Linked DNA regions of Homo sapiens: all the other regions are linked to region 4. Evidence: promoter capture Hi-C in 16 types of primary human blood cells and fetal thymus (Javierre and others, 2016). All regions are on one chromosome and are shown on one strand. The core of a region is centred on a gene start or on the middle of the fragment in contact, and the rest is flanking DNA. Distances in the headings are between cores, read along the strand shown. Region 1 overlaps LOC105375566 (a long non-coding RNA gene). Region 2 holds the start of LOC105375567 (a long non-coding RNA gene). Region 3 has its middle 3.8 kb from the start of LINC00996. Region 4 holds the start of GIMAP6 (GTPase, IMAP family member 6).

Region 1 (6,484 bases), core at 2,521-5,020, 140 kb after region 4:
ACAGACATAGGTGATACAAAACTATAAAGAAAAGCAAGGAAAGGCTGGGCGCGGTGACTCACGCCTGTAATCCAAACTCTTTGGGAGGCCAGAGCAGAAGGATTCCTGAGGACAGGAGTTCGAGACCAGCCTGGGCAAAACAGTGAGGCCCTATCTCTACAAAAAAAAAAAAAAAATTGGCCAGGTGAGGTGGTGCACAAGGTGATCTTGCTACACAAAAGTCCAAAGTGGGAGGATCGTTTGAGCCCAGGAGGTCAAGGCTGCAGTGAGCTATGATTGCACCACTGCACTCCAGCCTAGGCAATGGAGCAACACCCTATCTCAAAAAAAAGAAAAAGAAAGAAAGTGAATGATTAACACAAAAGAGAGGATAGTAATAATACCCTAGCGACAGGGAGAGGAACTCATGGAGGTGGGATGGGAAGCTTCGAAGGGCAATGCTCTACTCCTTAAACTGGGTATGGCTTTATTGAGCTTTATGCTGTACATATACTCTTATATATATATATTCATGATATACTTAACTATAAATATAGCTCAACCATATTGAAAAACATGAAACAAGACCTGAACAAACAGAAAAACAGACCATGTTCTGGTATGAAAATACTTACCACTATGAAGATATACATTCTTCCAAAATGGATATATACATAATTAAATTCCAATTGAAATCTGTTGTTTTTGTGTGTGGAATTAGATATGCTTTCTTCAGGCTCCCTTGTGCGGAAAAAAAATGCCTGAACATAAGTTAGTCTGGCATCGGCATAAAACACACAAATAAATCAGTAGGACAATATACATAGTACATAATGAATCCTAGTTAATAATGGGAATAAATGTATGAAAAAGCAGAGGAAAATTGGTTATTTAGTTAAGTGGTGAGGAAAAAACAGCTTTCCAATTAGAAGAAAGTAAAGCTGGGCTGCTACCTCACACTACATAAAAATCCAAGAGGCCGGGCACAGTGACTCACACTGTAATCCCAACACTTTGGGAGGCTGAGACAGGTGGATCACGAAGTCAAGAGATCGAGACCATCCTGACCAACATGGTGAAACCCCATCTATACTAAAAACACAAAAATTAGCTGACCGTGGTGGTGCCCGCCTGTAGTCCCAGCTACTTGGGAGGCTGAGACAGGAGAATCGCTTTATCCCGGGAGACGGAGGTTGTAGTGAGCCGAGATCGCACCACTGCACTCCAGCCTGGCAACAGAGCAAGACTCCATCTAAAAAAATAAAAAATAAAATAAAATCCAAGAAGGATTGAATTTGTGTCTGTAAAAAAATAACATGAAAATCTTAAGACAAAATACAGGAGATTATATGTACAAGCCAAGAGTTGAATGTACTTTCTTAACCAAGACATGAAGCCAGAAGTTATAAAAGAAAAGATGGCTTTAAAGTGTTTAATATGGCAAAGATGCCATAAACAAATTTAAAGATAAAAAAATAAATTTTTCTCTTGAGCCCAGGAGTTGTAGGCTGCAGTGAGATCTGATTGCACCACTGAAATCCAGCTTGGGTAACAGAGTGAGACCTCATCTCTAATGAAAAAAAAAAAAATTAAGATGAAATTTTAAAATCTATGTTACCAAAAAAACTCACAAAAATAAAAATGTGCAACATCCTTAGACTGTTCACAGATGAACAATCAATGGCCAATACACATGTGAAAAAAATTCACTTCATAATGAAGGAAATGAAAATCAAAACAACTTGAAAGCATTGTAAAAAGTTATATACTATTGACAAAAATTAGGGGTGAGCTGAGGTCTGGAGGTCGAGATCAGCCTGACCAACATGGAGAAACCCCATCTCGACTAAAAATACAAAAGGCCGGGTGTGGTGGCACATGCCTGTAATCCCAGCTACTCCGGAGGCTGAGGCAGGAGAATCGCTTGAATCCGGGAGGCGGAGGTTGCAGTGAGCCAAGATCGCGCCATTGCACTCCAGCCTGGGCAACAAGAGCAAAACTCCATCTCAAAAAAAAAAAAAAAAAAAAAAATAGTGGTGAGGTTGGGAAGAAACGCAAAAGATGCTTTAATGCATTGCTGGTAAATGTAAATTATTACAGCCTTTTAAGAAAGCTCTCAATAGGATTTATTTTATTTTAAAATATTTATACACTTTAATGCATCAACCCTATTCCAAAGACTCCGTCTCATGGCAATAAAAGCTCCAGTTAGTATAGTCTGGTTTTGCAGAATTGTTTCTAGAGGCAAAAACATAGGAAGAGAGGTAAAAGTGCATCAGTAGGGATACTCATATTGGTATACTCATATCATGGAAATATTATGCAGCACTAAAAAGGATTATTAGAATGGCTAAAATTAAATACACTGAACACACTGAGTGTTGGTGAAGATGTGGAGGGACTGGTGGTATATAAAATGGTGCAATTGGCCGGGCTCAGTGGCTCACGCCTGTAATCCCAGCACTTTGGGAGGCCAAGACAGGCAGATCACCTGAGGCCAGGAGTTCAAGACCAGCCTGGCCAACATGGCGAAATGCTGTCTCCACTAAAAATACAAAAAAAAAAAATTAGCCAGGTGTGGTGGCAGGCGCCTATAATCCCAGTTTCTCAGGAGACTGAGGCAGGAGAATTGCTTGAACCCAGGAGGCGGAGGTTGCAGTGAGCTGAGATCACACCAGTACACTCCAGCCTGGGCAACAAGAGCAAAACTGCATCTCAAAAAAAAAAAAAAAGTGGTGCAATGACTTTAGAAAACAATTGGCCAGTTTCTTAAAAAGTAATCTTACACACCCATAATATGACTCAGGCATTCCACTCCTAGGTATATTCCTAAGAGAAAAGAAATCATGTGTTCATAAATGTCTTATACCTGATCATTCATAAAGCTTTATCTGCAATAGGCAAAAGTTGGGAATAAACAAAATATCTATCAACAGGTGAATGGATAAACTAACTGTAGCATATCTATACAATGGAATATGACTTCTCAATAAAAAGATATGAGCTACTGATTCACACAACATGGGTGAACCTCAAAATTATTATGCTCAGTGGAAAAAGTCAAACAAAAGGAGTACATATAGTATATATGGTGTGATTCCACTTACTCTAGAAAATGCTCACTATTCTATAGTGACAAAAAGCAAGTCAGTGGCTGCCCGGGGATGGGGGTGAGAAGTGTCAGGAGGAAGGACTGACAAGGGTCATGAGGATATTTTGGGGGGGGCCAATGGATATGTGTCAAAACTTATTAAATCGTACACTTTAAATATGATTCTCTCTCTCCCACTCTGTCTCTCTCTCCCTCTGAATTCTCCCTCTCTCTCCCACTGAAAACTGGAATAAGACAAGGATGACCACTCTCACCACTCCTATTCAATATGGTACTGGAAGTACTAGCCAGAGCAATCAGGCAAGAGAAAGAAATAAAAAGCATTCAAATAGGAAGAGAGGAAGTCAAACTATCTCTGTTTTCAGACAATATGATTTTATATGTAGAAAACCTCATAGTCTCTGCCCAAAAGCTCTTACAGATTCAAGACAAACAACTTTAAGAAAGTTTCAGGATAAAAACTCAATGTACAAAAATTAGTAGCATTTCTATACACAAACAACGTCCAAGCTGAGAGTCAAATCAAGAATGCAAGCCCATTCGTAATAGCCACGCACACAGAAAAAAATAAAATACCTAGGCATTTTCAAATCTCTTTCAGTAAAATATCTTTCACCTCCCTAACCAAGGAGAGTTTTGTAATTCTCAACCCCAGTGAGGCGAAAGATCTCTACAATGAGAATTACAAAACAATGCTCAAAGAATTTAGAGATGACACAAACAGATGAAAAAACATTTCATGCTCATAGATAGGAAGAATCAATATTGTTAAAATGGCCATACTGCCCAAATCAATTTACAGATTCAATGCTATTCCTATCACACTACAAATTACCTTTTTAAAGAATTAGAAGAAACAATTCTAAAATTCATATGGATCCAAGAAAGAGCCCAAATAGTCAAAGCAATCCTAAGCAAAAAGAACAAAGCTGGAGGCATTACATTACCTGACTTCAAACTTTCCTAGAGAGCTACAGTAACAAAAAACAGCACGGTGTGGTACAGAAACAGACATATAGACCAATGGAACAGAATAGAGAGCCCAGAAATAAAGCCACACACCTACAACCATCTGATCTTCAACAAAGTCAACAGAAACAAGTAATGGGGAAAAGACATCCTAGTCAATAAATGGTGCTGGGATAACTGGCTACCCATATGCAGAAGATTGAAACCGGACCTCTTCATTTCACCATATACAAAAATCAACTCAAGGTGGATTGAAGACTTAAATGTAAAACCAAAACTACAAAATCCTAAAAGAAAACCTAGGGAATACCATTCTAGACATAGGCCCTGCCAAAGATTTCATGACAAAGATAACAAAAGCAATTGCAACAAAAACAAAAATTGACAAATGGGACCTAATTAAACTAAAGAGCCTCTGCACAGCAAAAGAAACTACCAACACAGTAAACAAACAACCTACAGAATGAGAGAAAATATTTGCAAACTATGTGTCCAACAAAGGTCTAATAACCAGAACCTATAAGGAACTTAAACAAATTAACAAGCAAAAACCCTTTTAAAAATGGGCAAAGGACATGAACAGACACTTCTCAAAAGAAGTCATATACATGGCCAACAAGCTTATGAAAAAATGAACATTACTAATCATTAGAGAAATGCAAATCAAACCCACAATGAGATACCATCTCACACCAGTCAGAATGGCTATCATTAAAAGTCAAAAAGTTTGGGAGGCCGAGGGGGGTAGATCATGAGGTCAGGAGTTTGAGACCAGCCTGGCCAACATAGTGAAACCCCATCTCTACTAAAAATACAAAAAATCAGCTGGGCATGGTGGCAGATGCCTATAATCCCAGCTACTTGGGAGGCTGAGGCAGGAGAATCGTTTGAACCTGGGAGGCGAAGGTTGCAGTGAGCCAAGATCGCGCCACTGCACTCCACTCCGGGTGACAGTGGGAGACTCCATCTCACCAAAAAAAAAAAAAAAAAAAAAAAATCAAAAAGTAACAGATGCTTGAGGTTGTTAAGAAAAGGGAATGCTTATACACTGCTGATGGAAATGTAAATTAGCTCAGCCACTGTGGAAAGCAGTTTGGTGATTTCTCAAAGAACTTAGAACTACAATTTGAACCAGCAATCCCATTACTGAGTATATACCCAAAGGAATATAAATCATCCTACCATAAAGACGCACACATGCATACGTTCATCGCAGCAATATCTGTGATAGCAAAGACCTGGGATCTACCTAGATGGCCATCAATGGTAGACTGAATAAAGAAAATTGCTACATATATACCTGTATATGGAATACTATGCAGTCATAAAAATGAGATCATGCCTTGTGGCAACATGGATGGAGCTTCAGCCCATTATCCTAAGCAAACTAACACGGGAACAGAAAACCAAATACCACATGTTCTCACTTACAAGTGGGAGCTAAACACTGAGCACACATGAACACAAAGAAGGGAACAAGAGACTCTGGGGCCTACTTGAGGGAGAAGGGTGGGAAGAGGGTGAGGATCAAAGAACTACCTATTGAGTACTATGCTAATTGCATAGGTGATAAAATAATCGGTACACCAAATCCCCATGACACACAATTTACCTGTACAACAAACCTGCACACATACCCCTAATCCTAAAATAAAAGTTGGGGGAAAAGAAACAATAGATGTTGGCATGGATGTGGTAAAAAGGGAAATTCGTATAATCTCTATGGAAAACAATGTGGAAATTTCTGAAAGAACTAAAAGTAGATCTACCATTCAATCTAGCAATCCCACTACTGGGTATCTACCCAAAGGAAAAGGAGTCATTATATCAAAAAGACACTTTCACATATATGTTTATTGCAGCACAATTCATAACTGCAAAGATATTAAACAAACCTAAGGGCCCATTAACTGATGAGTAGATAAAGAAAATGTTTTATATATGTGTGTGTGTATATATATGTATGTTATACATACACACATGTGTATGTATAACATATATATACCATAAGATTTTATATATACACATATATACATATACATATATTATATATATATATATTCACCTTAAATGAGACAAGCCAGGCACAAAAAGACAAACATCACATGTTCTTTTTTTTGAGAAAGAATCTCACTCTGTCACCCAGGCTGGAGTGTAGTGGCATGATCTTGGTTCACTGCAACCTCCGCCTCCCAGATTCAAGTGATTCTTTTGCCTCAGCCACCTAAGTAGGTGGGTTTACAGGTGCGCGCCACCATGCCTAGCTTAGTTTTGTATTTTTAGTAGAGATGGGGTTTCACCATGTTGGCCAGGCTGGTCCCGAACTCCTAGCCTCTAGTGATCTACCCACCTCGCCTCCGAAACTGCTGAGTTTATAGGCGTGAGCCACCGCACCTGGCCCATATGTTCTCACTTATATGTGGG
Region 2 (7,079 bases), core at 35-2,534, 250 kb after region 4:
TTATAATTACGCCAAAACTAAAAAGCTTTCTTAAAAATATATATACAAATTCTCAAGTAAAATATAGTAAACTTGTTACTTTTTCAGGTATTTGATGCCTTTATCTGTAAATTCTTTCAAAGGAAATATGGCATGAACAAATATTGAGACAGGGATGTTTCACCAACTCTCAACTCCCCTTATTCAAGGGTTGGATCATAATAACTACATCTAAGTAATCCAGAAATTATCATTTTACTGAAAACCACGAAGACTATGTAGATGGAGAGAGATGAAAGAAGTACTATTTTTAAATCTGCAGCTTTATATCAATATACATAAATACATACCAGATAACCATATTTTATAAGAATACATATATATTCAAGGGTATATGTCAAATTTTAAAAAGAAAGGGGATTTGGCGTGGTCCTATCATTATGAAAGGGGATTCGGCGTGTTCCTGTCCTTATTTTACTCATCATGTCATCCCCTATCGTCTACCAGGCGTCCAGGCGCTGAGGACCAACCTTCTCTTCCTCCTCTGGCTAAGAAAACAATCAGCTTTCCCAGAGCCACCGCTGTCTGGACGCTAGATGGCGCCGCTGAGCTCCCCCCACCCCCCGCCTTTCCCCCACCCCCCCGCCTCCTCCCCACCACCCCGCCCACACCTGCGGTTCCTGCAGAGGGGTTGCTCAGGTGACCGGGCCGTTTGGACCACTTGGTTCAAATTCAGGATCCAGGTAGATGCAGCTGGGGAAAGCAGGGAGGAATGGGAGGCTACAGACAGAATGACCACATGCGTGCCTTCCTGCAGGGCTTGTCTTCTCCAAAGCCCCTGGTCAGTCACATGTTTTACTTGGCTCCCTTCCTTCTTCCTCGCCTTCTCCAGACCCTCTAAGCATGTGCCTTTGTCTCTTCCCAAACCTCCTGAGTCGCCTGAGGCCCTCTGGTGGTTCAATTCTTTATTGGAAGAACAAGCAACATGTTTACCCCAAGGGTTTCCACGGAGAAATACAAACACGTCTATTATTGGCAAGAAAAGCAGCACTGATTTGTTGAAGAACTAGGGAATTGTTCTAATTCTGCAGATTAGTCTCTTCTTGTCTTTGGTTGAAGTAACACAACCATCTCCATAGAGGTTCCTAAGCATAGAGGAAGATTGTATTGTAACAATACAAGGCTGCCGTAACTATGTAATTGGCCATAATTGAAGACAAGAATGGTGGGAAGTATGGGTTTGCAATTACCTAATATTCCTGTCCTAACCCATTTCAGGAGATCTTGCTGCGAGGTGCATGTTACCCATATAACAGACCCTGGGAGTATACCCAGGAGCAGTGGTGCGGATCACAGAAGGGGCTTTAAGACGCCCCTGGTGTTCTATGGCCATTAGCTACCAGTAGGAGCAGCTGCACCCCTGGCTGACCACAGATGTGGCTGTCAAACACAGTGAGTTAACAAAGGACAGTGAAACAGGGGGACGTGCAAGTCAGAGGAGATGCCTGCTTCCTCCTAGATCCCCACCATTTTCCTGGCTTTCTACTCTATTCCCAAAAAGAAGACACACTGGGGTAGAGGGCTGAGGGGAATAATTCAGTCCACAGATGCAGTTTTCTCTCTTTTTGCTACCATGGTTCTGAATGAAGAGCTAATATTATACTATTCCCACCTGTGATGAGCCCCAGTCCTTTTGATTCTTTTTCTTCTTCATCATCCATCCAAACGTCCCCAAGTGGTAAACAGGCCAGCAAACCTGTTATCCTCTCTTCTGTCCCTTCCACACATGTTTTAGCTTTAGTGGAAGCTCACAGAATAACCCTCAATTATCTGTTGTGGTCTGTGGCATTACCTTCTTAAAGGAAAGCTGATGGGTTCTTTCAACAGGTTTGGGGTCCACTCCCAGCTAACAATTAGTGTGACCTTAGCCGAGCACAGTGTCTCACGCCTGTTATCCCAGCACTTTGGGAGGCCGAGGCGGGTGGATCACGAGGTCGGAGATCAAGACCATCCTGGCTAACATGGTGAAACCCCATCTCCACGAAAAATAGAAAAGAAAATTAGCTGGGCGTGGTGGCGGGCGCCTGTAGTCCCAGCAACTCATGAGGCTGAGGCAGGAGAATGGTGTGAATCAGGGAGGCTGAGCTTGCAGTGAGCCGACATCGCGCCACTGCAGTCCAGCCTGGGTGACAGAGCAAGACTCCATCTCAAAAAAAATTGTGTGACCTTGTTTTCCTTTACCATTGTTTCTAGTTGCCCAGGAATCTAGTGGGAAGATGTGGCTATGGTCTGGGGCAGGATATTTTGGGAAGCCTGGTGTCCAGGGATATTAGGCAAACAAACTTTTGCATTGCACTTAATATTTCAGAAACCCAGCTGAATAGCTCTTATTTTTATGGCACTAAGAAAGTAAATCTTAAATCTTTGCTCTTAACACCATTAAGACAAAATTATTATGAAAATTGGACAAAGTGCCTTATAGCAGCTGATATATTTAAAACATCAATGATTGTACCCTTAGCATTGTTTTATTTTTATTTTTTAAAATTATCTAAACATTGTTTCAAAGCTTGTGAAACTACTAAAAGACAAAGGATTGTAAATGTCAATGAAAGGAAAAGTAAAACAGCAAGTATTTTAGCATACGGGGGCAATCAAGTCATAAAGAAAAAGGGTTAGTAGCTCACTAGACAATAAATTATTATAAAGAAGAGCCAAGAAAAGTATTGCTTTGAAACTTTTTACTTTTAACCTTCAGCCTTACTGAAGAATTTGTTCACTATACTTTAAAAATTTATTATTCTGATCATATTTTCCTTGATTTAAGAGTAGTGTCTTCAACATTAGCTGATATACCTACTAATAGCATCCCACGTCCTACCATCATTTCTTACATCTGACATCTTCTGCTGTTGATCCATAGGTTAACAAAACAAAACAGAAACTACACACAGAAAGAAAAAGAAAGGGAAGAAAGAAAAAAGAAGGAAGAGAAAAAAGCAGAGACCACTTCCAGAATGATTGTATGAGGAGCTCTGCAGACCTGCTCCCCAGCAAAACACTTATATCTAGTTAAATGATTTTTAAGCATTTAAAGTCTCTGGAAATTGTTCCCAATAAGAACAATGAGAATCTATGACACTTGAGCCATGACTCACTTCCTCTCTCCTCCATCCCCCCAACTCACTTAACAGAAGCTCCACTCTTCATGGACTTAGCCAGGAAAACACAGCTCCCTCTCCATCCAGCTCCCAGTCAAGCAATACAATGGCTCCCCAGAAGAGGCAGGCCACCAGAATTCCTCAGCCCCCATTTTGCACAGGCTAAATTGTAGATGAGTGCAGCTGAGAGAATGGAAGCTTCTCTCCTCCACCCAGTCCCCACTCATAGGTGGAGACTACCCCAGGTGATGCAGGCTGAAATTACTGAAGCCCCAATTGCGTTTGGATCAGAGGTTCCATGCTACAACAGCAACCTGAGAAGACAAGAGGCTACTGCCACCACGCAGAGCCCTGCTCTGTAAAGCAGGAGGGCTCTGAGAGAAGCCAGCCACAGCCCCTACCCCCAGGTCTTGAGCAGTGACTCAAAGATTTTGCCCAAAGGAAGAGGTAGATCATAAGAACAGAGAGCACTGAAGCTCTCCCCCGACCCCCCAAGAAACTAACTTGATTTAAAACAGGATGTAGAGAAGTTCAAGCATAAGGGAACTCGCAAAAACAATGGAGATTTTGGTGGTAAACAATAAAGATAATGGGATAAACTATATGCCAGCCAGTTTACCAGAGAAAACAAAACAAATAGCTAAGAAGAGTCCTTCCACTGTCTGAACAAACCCCAAAGACTGGACTCAAAACAATCCTACAAAGGGACCCAAATTTATCTGGATCATACTGTGAAGCATTGCATACTCCAGGCATTGTAGAAAAACAATAGAAAATCAGCCAGTAATTAGTGTACCCTGACAGCTGGGTGTGATGCCAACAGAGACTGATGGCTTAGCAAAGAGATCAGGAAATGAGAAAATTAAAGAGAGGCCGGTTAAAACTTCTGTCACCCCAGATGACTGACTGTACATGTACCTAAGGCTGTGCCCTCTGAGGAGTGAAATCAGAGGCTTCACATTATGGGGAAATACACTTCACAAAATAGTCAAGCAAAGTCACTAAACAAATAAGCCAAAAACAACAAGAAGCCTTGGCCAGGAGTAAGGAGTACGTGGAGGGGAGGGCAGCATCAGTATCCAGAGTTGCTCCAATATATTATCTAAAATATGTTATCTAAAATGATCAGCTTTTAACAACAAAGCATTATGAGACATGCAAAGAAACAGAAAAGTATAACCCACAGAATAAAAAAACCCGGCAACAAAAACTCTGTGAGAGGGCCCAGATGGGGGAATTAACAGAGACATCAAAGCAGCTGTTATAAATATGGTCAAAGTACTAAAGGAAACTATGCTTAAAGAAGTGAATAAGGTTATGACAATGTCCACTCAAATAGAGAATATTAATATAAAAACAGAAAGTATTTTTTAAAAGAACCAAATGGAAATTCTGGAGTTGAGAAATATAATAACTAAAATGAAGAATTTGCTAGAGGAGCTGAGTAGTGGATTTGAACTGGAAGAAGAAAAAATCAGCAAACTTGAATACAGATCAATAAAGATTATGCAATTTGAAAAGCAGAGAGAAAAAAAGCAGAAAGAAAAATGAACAGAGCCTCAGAGAAATGTGTGACATTATTAAGTGTACCAAATATGCAAAATGGGAGTAACTGAAGGAGGAAGAGAGAGAAGAAAACAGAAAAAAAAATCTAAGAAATAATGCCTGAAAACTTCCCAAATATGATGGAAAACATTAATCCACATGTTCAAGAAGCTCAACAAGCTTCAATTAGGAGAAACAAAAACAGATTTAACCCAGACACATCATCTTAAAAATGTTGAAAGCCAAAGACATAAAGAAAATATTGAAATCACCGAGAGAAAAATACTAGTCACATACAAGGGAACCCCAATGAGATTAACAATTGACTTTTCATCAGAAATAATGGAGGCCAGAGGCACTGAGATAACATATTTAAAGTGCTGAAAGAAAAAAAACTGTCAAGCAAGAATCTTATATCCAGCAATATTGTTTTTTTAAAAATGAAAGTAAAATAAAACCATTCTTAGATAAACAAAAACTAAGAGAATTCCTTGCTGGCATGCCACCTCACAAAAAATAGCAAAATAAATTCTTTAGGCTGAAAGCAAATGGCCTAGACAGTAACTTAAACCCACAAACAAAATTTAAAGAGCACCAATGTAGATAATTTTGTAATTATAAAAACAATAGTGTAAATGCATATTTCTTCTTCTTTCTTTACTTAACTAATTTTAAAAGCAATTGTGGGCTCTGTGTGTGTGTGTGTGTGTGTGTGTGTGTGTATGTGTTTAAAATTGTATTGTTGGGTCTACACATATAGAAATGTATTTATTTTACAATAATAGCACAAAACCAGTAGGTGGGAGCAAAGCTGCACTGGAATAAGGAAATATCAGCTGATGGTAACTTGAATCCACAGGTACAATAAAAAGAGCCAAAAATGATAAATAAGAAGGTTAATATAACAAAATCTATAAATACATACTTGCTTTCCTTTCTTCTCTCAGCTTCTTTAAAAGGTACAGAATTCCATAAAGTAATAGTTATAACTATGTTATTTTGGGTTTGCAACATATATAGATATAATATGTATAACAATAATGACACAAAAGGAGAACAGAATATAGAGCTATACAAAAGCAGCATTTCTATAACTCGTTGGAATTAAGTTAGTATAATCTGAAGCAGATTCTGATAAGTTAAAATGTGTATGGTAAGGCCTAGAGCAACCACTAAGAAAATAACTAAAAAAAAAAATACAGATAAATGAGATTAACCAAGAAAAGAAGAGAGACTATCCAAATAAGCTCAATTAGAAATGAAACTGGAGATATTACAACCAATACCACAGAAATACAAAAATCATTCAAGGCTACTATGAATAGCTTTACACACACAAACTAGAGAATCTAGAGGAAATAGATAAATTCCTGGGAACATACAACTCTCCTAGAATAAATCAGGAAGAAATATAAACCCTGATCGGACCAATAACAAGTAGTGAGATTTCAACAGTAATAAAAAAAATTTCCAACAACAACAAAAGTTCAGGACTAGATGGATTCACAGCTGAATTCTATCAGACATTCAAAGAAGAATCAGTACCAATCCTACAGAAACTTTTCAAAAGATACAGAAAGAGGGAATCCTCCCTAAATCATTCTATGAAGCCAGTATCACCCGAATACCAAAACCAGGAAAGGACATAACAAAAAAAGAAAACTACAGACCAATATCCCTGATGAACATAGAGGCAAAAATCCTCAACAAAAATACTAGCTAACCAAATCCAACAGCATATCAAAAAGATAATCCACCATGATCAAATGGGTTTCATCCCAAGGATGCAGGGAATGTTTAGCATACTCAAGTCAATAAATGTGATCTCTCACATAAACAGAATTAAAAACAAAAATCATCTGATCATCTCAATAGATGCAGAAAATAATTTTATAAAATCCGGCATTGCTTTATGATAAAAACCATTAACAAAATAGGCATAAAAGGGACTTACCTCAAAGTAATAAAAGCCGTATATGACAAACCCACAGTCAACACCATACTGAATGGGGAAAAGTTGAAAGCATTCCCCCGATAAATGGAATAAGACAAGTATGCCCACTTTCACCACTTCTATTTAACATAGTACTAAAAGTCCTCGCCAGAGCAATCAGACAAGAGAAAAAATAAAGGGGATCCAAATTGGAAAATAGGAAGTCAAATTGTCGCTGTTCACCAATGATATGATCATGTACCTAGAAAACCCTAAAGACTCATCCAAAAACCTCCTAGATCTGATAAACAAATTCAGTGAAGTCTCAAATTACAAAATCAATGTACACAAATCAGTAGCACTGCTATACAGCAGCAACAACCAAGCTGAAAATCAAATCAAGAACTCAATCCCTTTTATAACAGCTGTAAAAATAAAATACTTAGGAATGTACTTACCCA
Region 3 (7,086 bases), core at 1,932-4,431, 200 kb before region 4:
CAACATATAGATGCAGAGATGAGGCTAAAGAACATGGAGAGCCTTTCCCATCTGGTAGCAATATATATATATATATATATATATATATGTTTTTGAGATGGAGTCTGGCTCTGTCACCCAGGCTGGAGTGCAGTGGCATGATCTCAACTCACTGCAGGCTTCACCTCCCAGGTTCAAGCGATTCTCCTGCCTCAGCCTCTTGAGTAGCTGGGACTACAGGTGCTCGCCATCATGCCCAGCTATTTTTTTTTTTTTTTGTATTTTTAGTAGAGACAGCATTTCACCATGTTGGCCGGCCTGGTCTTGAACTCCTGACCTAGGTGGTCCGCCCACCTCGGCCTCCCCAAGTGCTGGGATTACAGGCATGAGCCACCTCGCCTGGCCTCGTAGCAACATGAATTGAAGGTAAGTGATTAATTTTGGCCACATCCATTCAATGGGAAGGCAGGGAACCTCTTTTTGGGAAAAATAAACCTGCTTAATGTTTTCCAGAAAAATAGTTTATAGTATCTTGCCAAGAGCACAATCATTGCCAGTCGTACCCGGAGGCACAGAGGTTGTGAAAGGTGCCAATGTCATCTGTTTTGTATAACCTTGAATACCTTATGTGTGAAATGACTTTGTGTGTTTAAATGTGTAGGGCTTTTTGATATGGGGTTATTCTTCATGTATTCTGCATATTATGATATGTTTGGTGAATCCCAATCTTATAAAAGAGAAAGGAAAATCAGCACTGCTGGTAGCACTTGAAATTCAATAGGTGTAGAGATTATTATTATTAACAAAGTGACTAAAATAGGAGGACTCAATTTGGAAAATTTGAGACGTGAAGCCTTACTGGTTAAAAAGAAATCAATAGATAAAAGGTCATTAATTTAGTACTTTCATTTTTGTATTTTTTGAAAAAGAGGCCCCCCAAGTTCTATAAGCTTCAAGCTCCATAAATCCTGGATCTACCCCTGGTGACGGCTCGGCCCCTTCACTTGCTGGGAGGGGAAGGTAGTTTTATCAATAGAACATTCCCTTTGCCACATTGAATGCCACTTGATTGTCTCCCCAAGGACAGACCCTTCTCCTCAATTTCAAGGGCTCCGTGTGTGTGTGGGGGGGGCGTGGGGGGGAATTATGCAGTCATTGTCCCCTGTGTCTCATTCTAAAGCAGCAGGGGCTTGAGCACAGGCACGGGTGTCTCTGAAATAGTTGTGCGCTGGGGCCTCCTCCTGCCCCGTCAGGGAGAACGTGGTGGTGGTGGGGGGAGGAGCCATTATGGTGGTAATGTGTGTGTGTGTGTGTGTGTGTGTGTGTGTGTGTGTGTGTGTGTGTGTGTATGGCTCACACCGACCCCTGACTTTGCAGTGTCTGCCTAAAGTACTCGGCATTTTCGGTGACTCCTCATGTTGCTGATTTGTTCCCTGGGGGCTGCACCCTCTGCCTTTCCCAACCACGGTGTCTCTCTGCCCTTGCTGCCAGGTGTGTGGGCCCACTCTGCCCTTCACTGGGTAAATCCTCTTAGTGGGAGGCCACACCTGAGGCAGGAAGGGCTCTCAGCCCTGCAGCATGGGCTACGTCAGTGCCCAGCAGGGCTCCCAGCTCTCACCACCTGGCTGCCTATCAGGTGCCCTGACGCTGCAGCTGCACGCTCTTGATGCTTATGGGGCCAATTTTCCATCCTCCATCCACCACAACTTACGTATCCCGCTGTCCCATGTCCCTGTAGGGCTAATGAGAACTTCTCCAGGCCAAGCAGTGGCAAAGTGGTGCCAACAGCTCCATGCGTATTGGGGCTCCCACGTCACGTGAGGGTGCTGAGGGCCTCAAACGCCTTTCACCAGAGGCCTGACTAGTGCGGCAGGTCAGGAAACAAGAAGAGACTTTAGAAGAGGGAGGCCTTGCCTTGTGTTCCTCAGAACCGGGACACTTGGTCCTCACCGGGGTGAGGCTGGGCAGAGTGCACCCTCCAGCCGCCTGTACCTCCACAGCCCTGCAGGCCGAGAGATGCAAGATAAACTGTGGATGGCACCCACTTTGGAGTCAGGAGGCCTGAGACTCTCCCCCAGCTGGTTCCTTCACGACCTTGGGGAAGTCACTTCCTTTCTGGGGGCTACAGTTTCTTCACTGAAGAATGAGGAGGTTAGATGGGAAGTCACTACTTCCAAAGATTTGTTTTTTTTTTAATGAAAGTAAAATCTTATTTTTTCAAAATATCACTAGGAAGACCCATGGATCACCCCAGGAGTGTTCCAGCTACAGCATGGGATGGGTCTCCCTCTCCCCAGCAACCTTGTCTGCTGGGCCCACCCCTTAGGTGTCCGGGGGCCCCCACTAGAACCTGCAGAAAACATTTGGAACCCACTGGACTTGCTTGCAGGTCCCGTAGAGTCCCACCCTCTAGGATTCTCTAAGGAATTCACAGGTACCCCCTCCGACCCCCAACCACACTCTCCACAGACACATGCACAGAAACGTAAGCACTGCCCACAGCTGTGTGCACACACAGGGACTTTCAGAGGCATGATTCAGAAGCCACACTGGGCAAAGTGCCCTCCTGCTGTTTGTGTTCACTCACGCAGCCCTTGGCCGCCTTCTTCCTGTCTTCTTTATTTGCTGCTGTCACTCCCACCTCCTGTGGAGTAGACCAGATGGCCGCATCTGCCCAAGGAAGTGTCTACAGAGGAAATGGCAAAGTGCATTCCAGCCAAGGTAGAAATCACTGGCAGGCAAGCTCTCAGGGCCAAGGCACTGGGGCTTTGGAGTCCTGGCCTGGGTCCCTACCCAAACCCTTGTCCCCTCAGATACATCCCTAGACCCCTTCCTGAGCAACCTGGAAAGAACCCGCAGACCCATTTTCTGCACATTCCTCAGCCCCACAGGGAGAGGAAAATGCTCCACCTCCTCCAGTTGCTGCCCAGGCTGCCGGCTACGAGGGGCTGTGGCTTCCACATTCCCTTCTCCAGTGCAGCCAGGCTTGACCTTTCAGAAAATCCTTGACGATGGGAAGGACTCCCAAGGATGGCATAGAATAGCCAGGCCCAGCCCCTGGACCTGCATAAAGCAATTGTTTGGAGGCAGAGAGTCGGATGCCTGGTGAATGGGGGGCTGGTACTCAATATAGTCAGAGAAGGCAGTGTCCTTACTCAGCTGCTCTCAGAGCGAAGGCACTTGCCCTCTGCAGGCTGCCCCAGAAGCCAAAGGAAAGCAACTGGAAGCTAAAGGGAAGGTTTGGGGACTTTAATAGCTGATATAGTTTGGATATTTGTCCCTGCCCAAATCTCATGTTGAATGAAATGTAATCTGCAGTGTTAGAAGTGCCTGGTGGGAGGTGTTTGGGCCATGGGGGCAGATCTCTCATGAATGGCTTGGGCCATCCTCCTGGTGATGAGTGAGCTCTTGCTCTGAGTTCACATGAGATCTGGTCATTTAAAAGTGTGTGGCACCTTCTACCTCACCAACCCCCCACCTCTCCCTCTTTCTCTCTCTGTCTCATGCTGAAGGAGACATGGAACAGTGAGATTCTCCCTTGGAGCCTCCAGAAGGAACCTGCCCTGTGGACACCTTGATTTTAGCCCTGTAGGTTCATTTCAGACTCTGGACTTCCAGAACGCTAAGAGAGTAAGTCTGTGTTGTTCAAGCCACTTTTTGTGGTGGTTTATTATGCAGCAATGGAGAACAAATACACCCGGCATGTCCTGGGACAAAGCCTGGGGACGGCGGGGGGACTGAGCTGGACGCCCATACCCCAAAGCACGAAGGGAAGAGACCAGCAGCTAACACTCGAAGAGGCCGACTAGTTCTCAAAAGGGAGAAGAGGTATGGCCTGAAAGCCAAGGAGCAAGGGAGATGCTAACTCTAACCGCATTATTTTTTTGGAGACAGGGTCTCCCTTGGTCACCCAGGCTGGAGTGCAGTGGTGCAATCATGGCTCACTGCAGCCTCGACCTCCTGGGCTCAAGCGATCCTCCTGCTTCAGCCTCCAGAGCAGCTGGGACCACAGGTGTGCACCACCACGCCCTGCCCCCTAACCCCATTTTCTGTCCCTGGGGTACATGGGGTGTGAGATAATAAACAGTCCCCACTGGAGAGAGATTATTTAATCCTCATCCTACTCCACAAGACCATTATCGTTACGATCTTCCTTCTATAGATCAGGAACCTGAAGTACTTGGGGGTGGAGGTCACTTGCTCAAGTTCAGGCAGTTAGGAAGGGCAAAGCAGAGGTTTGAACCGTGCCTGCACCTGTGAAGTTTGGAAACCATCATCGCATTCCCCCAGGGGAATAGTCTAGGATCTGAGTTCCAGCTTCTCCATCTGAGGCAGCGGTCCCCAGGCGCTGGCAGCAACGTGCAGCTGCTGGGGTACGAGGCAGCTGCCTGCAGAGACCGTGCCTTCCCCTTGGTGCAGATGCAGTGGGCAGCCTGCACTTTGCTGCTCCTGTGTCCGACTCCTTGGGGTTCTGTTCTGGAGACAGAGCTCAGTGGACTCACAAGACGGTCACTTTCTTCTGTTGAGTCCCTGAGTTTATTTGATGAAATCCAGAACTGAAGTTCCTGGAATAAGTCATCTTACCACCAGTGTTTTGAATTAACGAACTCAAATGTCATCTCCTCCCACACAAACATTTCTCTTTAGACATACAAGGATGAAGATGAAGAGAAAAAGCCAGGCCATATGCTGGGCTGTGGTGCGGATTACATTCTGTGTCCGGGGTGCTTGTTCGAATGTCCTACTTGGACGAGCTATTTGTGGGGCATAAGCAGAGAACCCAGACACAGATGACTTGGGAGGGGGCTCAGGATGCTTCAGTTTCCCCAGACACTCCTGGCTGTGCCATTGCTCTGCCCACTGGGAACAGTTTATATGATTCTCAGATAAGAACCACATCAGCAGAGAAGCCAAAAAGGAGATACGACCCTTGTTTCATCGTCCCTTGGTTCCAATTTCCTCAGGGGATTGGGCTACTCTAAACTTTTCTTGAAGTGAACAAGTCTTGAGATACATTTTTTTTTTTTTGAGATGGGGGTCTCACTCTGTTACCCAGACTGGAGTGCAGTGGTGCAAACACAGCTCACTGCAACCTCAACCTCCTGGGCTCAAGTGATCCTCCCACCTCAGCCTCCCGAGTAGCTGGGACTACAGGCATGCACCACTACACCGAGCTAAGTTTTTATTTTTTGTAGAGATGGAGTCTTGCTATTATGCCCAGGCTGGTCTGGAACTCTGGAGTTAAGTGATTTTCCTGCCTTGGCCTCTCAAAGAGTTGGAATTACAGGCATGAGCCACTGTGCTGGGTTATGAATATTTTTTTAAATGACGTGCATTCCAAAACAGTTTCACAGGGCTATAAGGAAAAGAAGAAAATTAGGCAACTATTTTGTATACTGCTTATAAAAAATACCGTTGATTTTCTTTCCTAGGTGTAATTAGCTTTTGAGTGGGAAAGCTTGTATTCCCACTTTGAATATTCTATTCAAAGTCGAGGACAGTCAAGTACCTCACATTCTAGAGAGAACATCAACAGTCCTCTTGGCAGTTATTGAAAAGGGACAGACCAACTCTGTCACCCCACTCTCCCTTCATCGGCCCACACTCAATACCAACACCAGTCTGGAGTGCATACTTGGAAGACTTGAAGGGGGAAAAGGAGTGAGAAGGAGGGGCTGTTGGAACCTTGAGCTGTGGGGAAGAGAGGCTTTGCTTAGGTGCTGGGGAGACTCCAGCTCCCACTTCAGCCCTGTGTCTGGGCCTGCTCCATGGTGGTGCTGAGGCCCTTCTGTGCCTGTGAAGCTGGACTATGAGAATTTTGTCTTTCTTGTGACTCCCTTTTCCACAGATCTTGGAGTTCAACAGGACACACAAGTCCTAGAACATTTAAAAACATAAGTAAATCCCCCTCCTTCTCCCACCTGGAGAACTTAGAATCGTCATGCCAACTTCTGGAGGCAATGGTCTTCAGATCCGCTTGGCTGTGGCCAAACTACAGGGTGTCATGGAGAAACACAGTCTGGTGGGAGGGGGCAGATGATGAAAGCAGAAGACAGGAAAGACAAAGACTTCTTGGTGTTATCTTCCATGGTGAGTGTGCAGTTTCCATATTCTCCAGCTATGAACTTGAACTCAATGGGAGAAATCTCCCAGTAAGATGTTATGTGGGTGGTGGCCGAGTAGGGGTGGGTTGGTCGCTGTGAACTGTCTGAGACTCTCCTGTCTTAACATTGGAGAAATGGAGACTTGAAGAGGTGAAGCAAATTTCCCTAGATGACTTGGGAACGTTGGGTTGTGGGGAGTTGGGTTTGAACTTGGACATTCAGTTTTGAATCCACGTGCTTACAGAGGGGTAGAGAAGGCTCTAGGGCATGAGAGTCAATTACTCAGCAGAGAAGGGAAAGGGAGAAGATTTCACACATTCCTGCCCTTCTGAGTTGATTTCAATCCTATCTGAGTAATAGACATCATTATGGTTAATATTTGTCTCTGATTGGTCGTCTTTGTTTTGACTCCCCCTGAATTAAGGATTCAAGGGCAAGTAGTTTATTTGAGAGTGGATCCCGAGAAACCCTGGTGGGGGAGTGGGAAAGTGAGAAAGAGAGGAGGCCACTGGAGGATGACTGGTAAGTTCATTTCCACTTTGGGCCACTGAGCTTGATCCTGCTGGGGAACCCTGGCAGGTACGTCTCAGATGCCAACCATGGAGCAAGAACACAGGGGTGTTCTTTCCATCTGGCCTTGGTGGCAGCATCTCCCAGGGGCACTGTGTCCCTGGTGCTCTGGTCTGTGGAGAGTCATAGGTGCTCTTGTTAAGCATCTGTGTGCACGGAGAGGAGAGTGCTTGGGAGGGATAGGGGGTGGCATCAAGGGCATCTGCAAACCTCAGGCAGCTGGAGGATGGCCAGGTGGCTGCCTCTCTGTAGCTCGTGTCCTGAAGTGTCTTTCTGTGCCCACTTATTTGTGCTCGACCTTGGGCTGCAAGTTTGTTGATAGTTACAGGGGGTGGCTCCAGCCACCGTGTTGGGTGTCTCACCCTGTCCAACCCCTGATCTTTATTGTGGACCAGGCTATAGACAGATCTTTGTCAGCTGCCCCTGTGAGTCT
Region 4 (6,806 bases), core at 427-2,926:
CTGGGAAGGAAGCCAGAGACCTCAGGGGAGAAGCAGCCACCAGTTAGCTCTGTCTGGGCCTCAGCATCCCATCAGTAAGAATGTTGGGCCTGAACTAGATGCCTGTGAATGTCTCTTCCCCTATTAAGGTCTCAACATACTTCATAACATTTTTTAGAGCAATTCTTAGTCCTTTTTGCAAATTAGGGCCACATCATTCCCAACCAGGAACTCCTGTCCCCTTTCCCATGACAGCAATGTGTCCTGGCTTCATAGACTAACACAGTTCTCTGTGCCAAGATCCCATAAGGTTCTCTCTGCTGGATTTTCTCTGTGGGACTGAGGAGGAAGTTGCATGGTCCATGACTGTTTTTCCAGATCATGTAGGACATTCACAACCAGATGAAACAGATCCAGATGAAGGGTCTGGGGTGTGGGGAAACCTAAGTCCAGGGGAACCTGATAGACATGTTTTTCTCATTGCCACATTGTTAGATGTTTGTTCTATTCTGTTCACCTGGCAAACACTCCAGTCCTCCCCAGATCCCAGAAGTATATATGCGGATATTGCTTTATGATTGGTAAAGATCAATTTTGCAGTGCTGGGCTGGGCATGGAGGGAGTCCAGGAAGGTCTGTTGACTTTCTAGGAAGAAAGAAGAAGCAGGCCAGGCGGACAGCCTTACTCAGACCTGAACAGCCAGATTCTGGAAGGAGTACAATATTTCACCTACCAAAGGGAGTTAGTTCTTCCTAACTGGTGGCCTCTCAATCTCTTTGTCCCTGGCTTCCTTACATCCCTGGTGGAAATTGAGGCAGCACTTTACCAATGTAATCTCATTCCTCCTTTAGAGAGAACGGGCAGGCAGCTTAACAGGAAACAACAGCCGGGTGGGACTAGGCTGTGGCATGCAGGAACCTGCACTGTGCCTTCGCAGGGTTCGGGGAATGGGTCTGCACGCAAGGCACCTCCCTGCCTCCTCCTAGACCCTCCCCGGAATGGCACCTCCCATGTTGGCCACAGTGTGCATTGTCTCCAACACAGAAGATGGAACAGATAGTACCATCCTTGTCATATTGCTCTGGAAGAAAGCAAAACTCAGAGAAGCATCTTGCCAAATATTAAACAGTGACTTTGTCACAAGGCAAAAAGTTCTCCAGACGTGTTGGTCACAGCTCTTTTTATCACATTACAAACCTGCACACACCACAGCACACACAAATACACAACACACACACATACACAAAACACATGTACCACTCACACACATGCAGGTGAACACACAAACACATACACAAACACAAATATACATACACAACACACACACAACACTCACATACACACACAACACAAACATCACACACACAAACATCACTCACACACATTCATGTTAACACATACAAACATGTAAACACACATGTACAACACAAACACCCACACATACACATCCAAATATGACACGCACAAATACTCAGACTTACCTCTGCACCAGCTCACAGGCAAGAGAAAGGACCACGTTTCTGGTCTCCCGGCCACGCACTCTCACGGAGGAGGCAGAGAAAAGCTTCCACAGTGTATGAACACAAGGAGGACAAGGCCGATGTTTGCTTATATTTTCAGCAAAATGTTTTCAGAGAGCTGGGCTGGAGACCTGCCCTTGAAAGAGCAGTGTCCGCTGGAGATGGAGGAACAGGAAGTGGGTAGGAGCACCGGCCTTCCTGAGTCAGAAGAGTCTGCTGTTGCACTTTGCAGCCTCGGAAGTAGAAAAAGGGAGGATACCAGTGGTGGGATTATTTTTATCCTGAGCCAGGATAACTAGAACTCAGAGCTTAAAAAGAGGCAGATGCCTCAGAAAGATTTGTGTCAGGAGGAGTGACTTTCCCTGATCTCTCTTTTCTGAACCCCACCTCTTCCCCAGGGAACTTCTATGCCTCAGTATTGGGGCAAACAGTCATTGTCTCCTTTCTTCCCCAACCTCTCCTTCCTTTAATAGTTTCTCTCAGGACAAGGTCTGACACTCATTACCTCTAAGGCATGAATCATTGGTAATTACAATTGTTACAGCTTCTAGAAGATCTGCACTATAAGAAAAGGGAAAATACAAAAGAATGTCTAAAATGTAGGATTAAAGAGAGCACTTGTTATGGGGGAAGAACAATATTTTAAACACAGGCCAAGGGAGAAAACACCTCAGCATCCTCAAAAACATGTTTTCTAGGACTTTACTGACAGATCTGATAACTGTGGCTAAAGGGAAGCCATTGAAGGAAGAAATTCAGAACATAGGAGCATAGGTGATGATATTGTTACCACATGATTTTAAAATGTTAAGATTCCCTAAAAAAATTCCACTCAATCTACTATAATAGTTCTAATTTTCTTTGGTTCTGTTCTGGTTGATAATCATGGTGTATTTATTAAAATTGTTACATAGTATGTGTGTGTGTACATATATATATCTTTTAATGTTCTACTTAAATTATTCTGTAAATACCCTGACACAATTAATTTTTTTTTTTTGAGACAGAATGTCATCCTGTCACCCAGGCTGGAGTGCAGTGGTGTGATCTCAGTTCACTGCAACCTCATCCTCCCAGGTTCAAGCGATTCTCATGCCTCAGCCTCCCAAATAGCTGGAATTACAGGCGTCCGCACACCCGGCTAATATTTTGTATTTTTAATACAGACGGGGTTTTACCATGTTGGCCAGGTTGGTCTCAAACTCCTGACCTCAAGTTATCTGCCCACCTCGGCCTCCCAGAGTGTTGGGATTATGGGCGTGAGCCACCGCGCCTGGTGTAACATGATTAATTCTTTTTTTTTTTTTTTTCTCGAGACGGAGTCTCGCTCTGTCGCCCAGGTTGGAGTGCAGTGGTGCGGTCTTGGCTCACTGCAAGTTCCACCTCCTGGGTTCACGCCATTCTCCTGCCTCAGCCTCCTGAGTAGCTGGGACTCCAGGTGCCCACCACCACGCCCAGCTAATTTTTTGTATTTTTAGTAGAGATGGGGTTTCACTGTGTTAGCCAGGATGGTCTCGATCACCTGACCTCATGATCTGCCCACCTCGGCCTCCCAAAGTTCTGGGATTACAGGTGTGAGCCACCACGCCCAGCCACTTAATTAATTCTTAAAAGTCATGTGTTGATCTTTACCATTCCATTGCCTAAGTGTTTAGAAAGTATTTAGAATGTTATTACTCCACCCATAATTGAAATTAACCATCTATTTTGAATTTTAATCATTTCCATCTTCTGCAAGCTGACTCTGGAGAGTTGCCCAGACCTGCAGTTGACTGAGCCAGGGATCAATCAGCTCAGCGTTTAGCCATGAGAATTGGGAAGTGTTTGTTACTGCAAGGTAATCTGGCCTAATCTAATTGATACAGCATATAAATCTGATGTTGGTTCTTTTGGTTTGTTTTTTATTTTTTGCTGACTCTCACTTTTGGTGATTTCTTTTCTGGAATTACATTCACAGTCTTTGATTGTGAACTTAAGTATGGAAATCCTTGGGATTGAAATCAAGGTGGCTTTACTCCAGAGAAGATTTGTGTACATTTTTATCAGGAACTGACAAGGGGGTGCTGGTACTACTAAACTGAGACCACTTCAACCCCATTTTCAGATTTCTGGCTTAATCCAGAAATTCCTCAATCTACAACTCACTTTACAACTGATTCCAAATTTAGGCTCCAGAGAGTATGGCTGAGAGCTTCATTTGCTCTTGGGGCAACCAATCTTCCCTTTGAGTTTATGGCTCTACTCCTGTTTCAGTTTATTTATTTATTTACTTATGTATTTATTTGGTTATTTAAAAAAATTTTGCCCACATGGTGTTATCCCTCACTTCCTGCAAGCCAAATAATGTAGTCCATTGTTTTGTTGAGGGAGGACTTCTCTATGCTAACACAGCATATTTACAAAGAATGTAATTCACAATCTCTGTTATGATCTTGTTTCTTTTTTTATTATTATTATACTTTAAGTTCTGGGGTACATGTGCAGAACGTGCAGATTTGTTACATAGGTATACACGTGCCATTGTGGTTTGCTGCACCCATCAACCCATCCTCTACATTAGGTATTTCTCCTAATGCTATCCCTCCCCCAGTCCCCCATTCCACAACAGGCCCCGGTGTGTGATGTTCCCCTCCCTGTTCCATGTGTTCTCATTGTTTGATTCCCACCTGAGTGAGAACAGGCAGTGTTTGGTTTTCTGTTCTTTTGTTAATTTGCTGAGAATGATGGTTTCCAGCGTCATCCATGTCCCGGCAAAGGACATGAGCTCATTCTTTTTTATGGCTGCATAGTATTCCATGGTGTATATGCACCACATTTTCTTTATCCCGTCTATCATTGATGGGCATTTGGGTTCATTCCAAGTCTTTTCTATTGTGAACAGTGCCACAATAAACATAGGTGTGCATGTGTCTTTATAGTAGAATGATTTATAATCCTTTGGGTATATACCCAGTAATGGGATTGCTGGGTCAAATGGTATTTCTAGCTCTAGATCCTTGAGGAATCGCCACACTGTCTTCCACAATGGTTGAACTAATTTACACTCCCACCAACAGTGTAAAAGCGTTCCTATTTCTCTACATCCTCTCCAGCATCTGTTGTTTCCTGACCTTTTAATGATCACCATTCTAACTGGCGTAAGATGGTATCTCATTGTGGTTTTCATTTGCATTTCTCTAATGATCAGTGATGATGACCTTGTTTTCATATGTTTTTTGGCTGCATAAATGTCTTGTTTTGAGAAGTGTCTGTTCATATCCTTCACTCACTTTTTGATGGGGTTGTTTGTTTTTTCTTGTAAATTTGTTTAAGTTCTTTGTAGATTCTGGATATTAGCCCTTTGTCAGATGGATAGATTGCAAAAATTTTTTCCCATTCTGTAGGTTGCCTGTTCACTCTGATCATAGTTTCTTTTGCTGTGCAGAAGCTCTTTAGTTTAATCAGATCCCATTTGTCAATTTTGTCTTTTGTTGCCATTGCTTTTGGTGTTTTAGTCATGAAGTCTTTTTTCATGCCTATGTCCTGAATGATAATGCCTAGGTTTTCTTCTAGGGTTTTTATGATTTTAGGTTTTAGGTTTAAGTCTTTAATACATCTTGAGTTAATTTTTGTATAAGGTGTAAGGAAGGAGTCCAGTTTCAGTTTTCTGCATATGGCTAGCCAGTTTTCCCACTACCATTTATTAAATAGGGAATCCTTTCCCCATTGCTTGTTTTGGTCAGGTTTGTTGAAGATCAGATGGTTGTAGATGTGTGGTGTTATTTCTGAGGCTTCTGTTCTGTTCCATTGGTCTATATATCTGTGTTGGTATCAGTACCATGCTGTTTTAGTTACTGTAGACTTGTAGTATACTTTGAAGTCAGGTAGCGTGATGCTGTACTACAAGTCTACAGAACTTTGTTCTTTTTGCTTAGGATTCTCTTGGCTATGCAGGCTCTTTTTTTGGTTCCACATGAAATTTAAAGTAGTTTTTTCTAGGTCGGTGAAGAAAGTCAATGGTAGCTTAATGGAAATAGCATTGAATCTACAAATTACTTTAGGCAGTATGGCCATTTTCACAATATCGATTCTTCCTATCCATGAGCATGGAATGTTTTTCCATTTGTTTGTGTCCTCTCTTATTTCCTTGAGCAGTGGTTTGTAGTTGTTCTCCCTGAAAAGGTCATTCACATCCCTTGTAACTTGTTTCCTAGGTATTTAATTTTCTTCATAGCAATTGTGAATGGGAGTTCACTCACGATTTGGCTTTCTGCTTGTCTATTATTAGTGTATAGGAATGTTTGTAATTTTTGTACATTGATTTTGTATCCTGAGATTTTGCTGAAGTTTTTTTATTAGCTTAAGGAGTTTTGGGGCTGAGATGAGGGGTTTTCTAAATATACAATCATTTCATCTGCAGAGACAATTTGACTTCCTCTCTCCCTATGTGAATACCATTTATTTCTTTCTCTTGCCTGATTGCTCTGGTCAGAACTTCCAATACTATGTGAATAGGTATGGCGAGAGAGGGTATCCTTGTCTTGTGCCAGTTTTCAAAGAGAATGCTTCCAGCTTTCGCCCATTCAGTATGATATTGGCTATGGGTTTGTCATAAATAGCTCTCATTATTTTGAGATATGTTCCATTAATACCTAGTTTATTGAGTGTTTCTAATATGAAAGGGTGTTGAATTTTATCGAATGCCTTTTCTGCATCTATTGATATAATCATGTGGTTTTTGTCATTGGCTTTGTTTATGTGATGGATTACATGTATTGATTTGTGTATGTTGAACCAGCCTTGCATCCCAGGGATGAAGCCAACTTGATCGTGGTGGATAAGATTTTTGATGTGCTGCTGGATTTGGTTTGGCAGTATCTTATTGAGGATTTTCACAATGATGTTCATCAGGGATATTGGCCTGAAATTTGTGTGTGTGTGTGTGTGTGTCTGTTTCTGCCAGGTTTCAGAATCAGGATGACTCTGACTCATAAAATGAGTTAGGAAGGGGTCCCTCTTTTTCTATTGTTTGGAATAGTTTCAGAAGGAATGGTACCAGCTCCTCTTTGTATCTCTGGTAGAATTTAGCTGTGAATCCTTTTGGTCCTGGGCTTTTTTGGTTGGCAAGCTATTAATTACTGCCTCAATTTCAGAACTTCTTGTTGGTCTATTCAGGGATTCGACTTCTTCCTGGTTTAGTCTTATCCATTTCTTCTAGATTTTCTATTTTATTTGCATAGAGCTTTTTATAGTATTCTCTGGTGGTAGTTTGTATTTCTGTGGGATCAGTGATGATATCCCCTTTATCATTTTTTATTGTGTCTATTC

Evidence for each region. The method cuts DNA at HindIII sites, captures the fragments that hold promoters and counts their contacts. A CHiCAGO score of 5 or more calls a contact.
Region 1: a fragment that was not itself captured here is called in contact with the fragment with the promoter of GIMAP6 in region 4 in 2 of 17 cell types (naive CD8 T cells and non-activated CD4 T cells); the score reaches 5.7 in naive CD8 T cells.
Region 2: a fragment that was not itself captured here is called in contact with the fragment with the promoter of GIMAP6 in region 4 in 1 of 17 cell types (M2 macrophages); the score reaches 5.4 in M2 macrophages.
Region 3: a contact is called between a fragment that was not itself captured here and the fragment with the promoter of GIMAP6 in region 4, in 6 of 17 cell types (non-activated CD4 T cells, total CD8 T cells, activated CD4 T cells and 3 more). The highest score is 7.0, in non-activated CD4 T cells.

The regions. Positions count from the first base shown.
Region 1 is chr7:150,769,693-150,776,176 of GRCh38, forward strand. All of the region lies in intron 2 of LOC105375566 (a long non-coding RNA gene), which reads right to left. Among named protein-coding and RNA genes, the nearest start is that of TMEM176B, 27 kb to the right of the region's middle. The HindIII fragment of the contact is 1,816 bases long and covers 2,863-4,678 here.
Region 2 is chr7:150,876,359-150,883,437 of GRCh38, forward strand. LOC105375567 (a long non-coding RNA gene) reads right to left here and starts at 772. Exons shown (of 5, transcript XR_928171.3): 1 at 651-772. The HindIII fragment of the contact is 2,523 bases long and covers 24-2,546 here.
Region 3 is chr7:150,426,316-150,433,401 of GRCh38, forward strand. No RefSeq gene overlaps it. Among named protein-coding and RNA genes, the nearest start is that of LINC00996, 3.8 kb to the right of the region's middle. RefSeq lists an enhancer at 2,511-2,680. The HindIII fragment of the contact is 4,508 bases long and covers 928-5,435 here.
Region 4 is chr7:150,630,709-150,637,514 of GRCh38, forward strand. GIMAP6 (GTPase, IMAP family member 6) reads right to left here and starts at 1,677. Exons shown (of 3, transcript NM_024711.6): 1 at 1,461-1,677. RefSeq lists enhancers at 1,088-1,167, 1,438-1,527, 1,538-1,627. The HindIII fragment of the contact is 8,992 bases long and covers 1,542-6,806 here.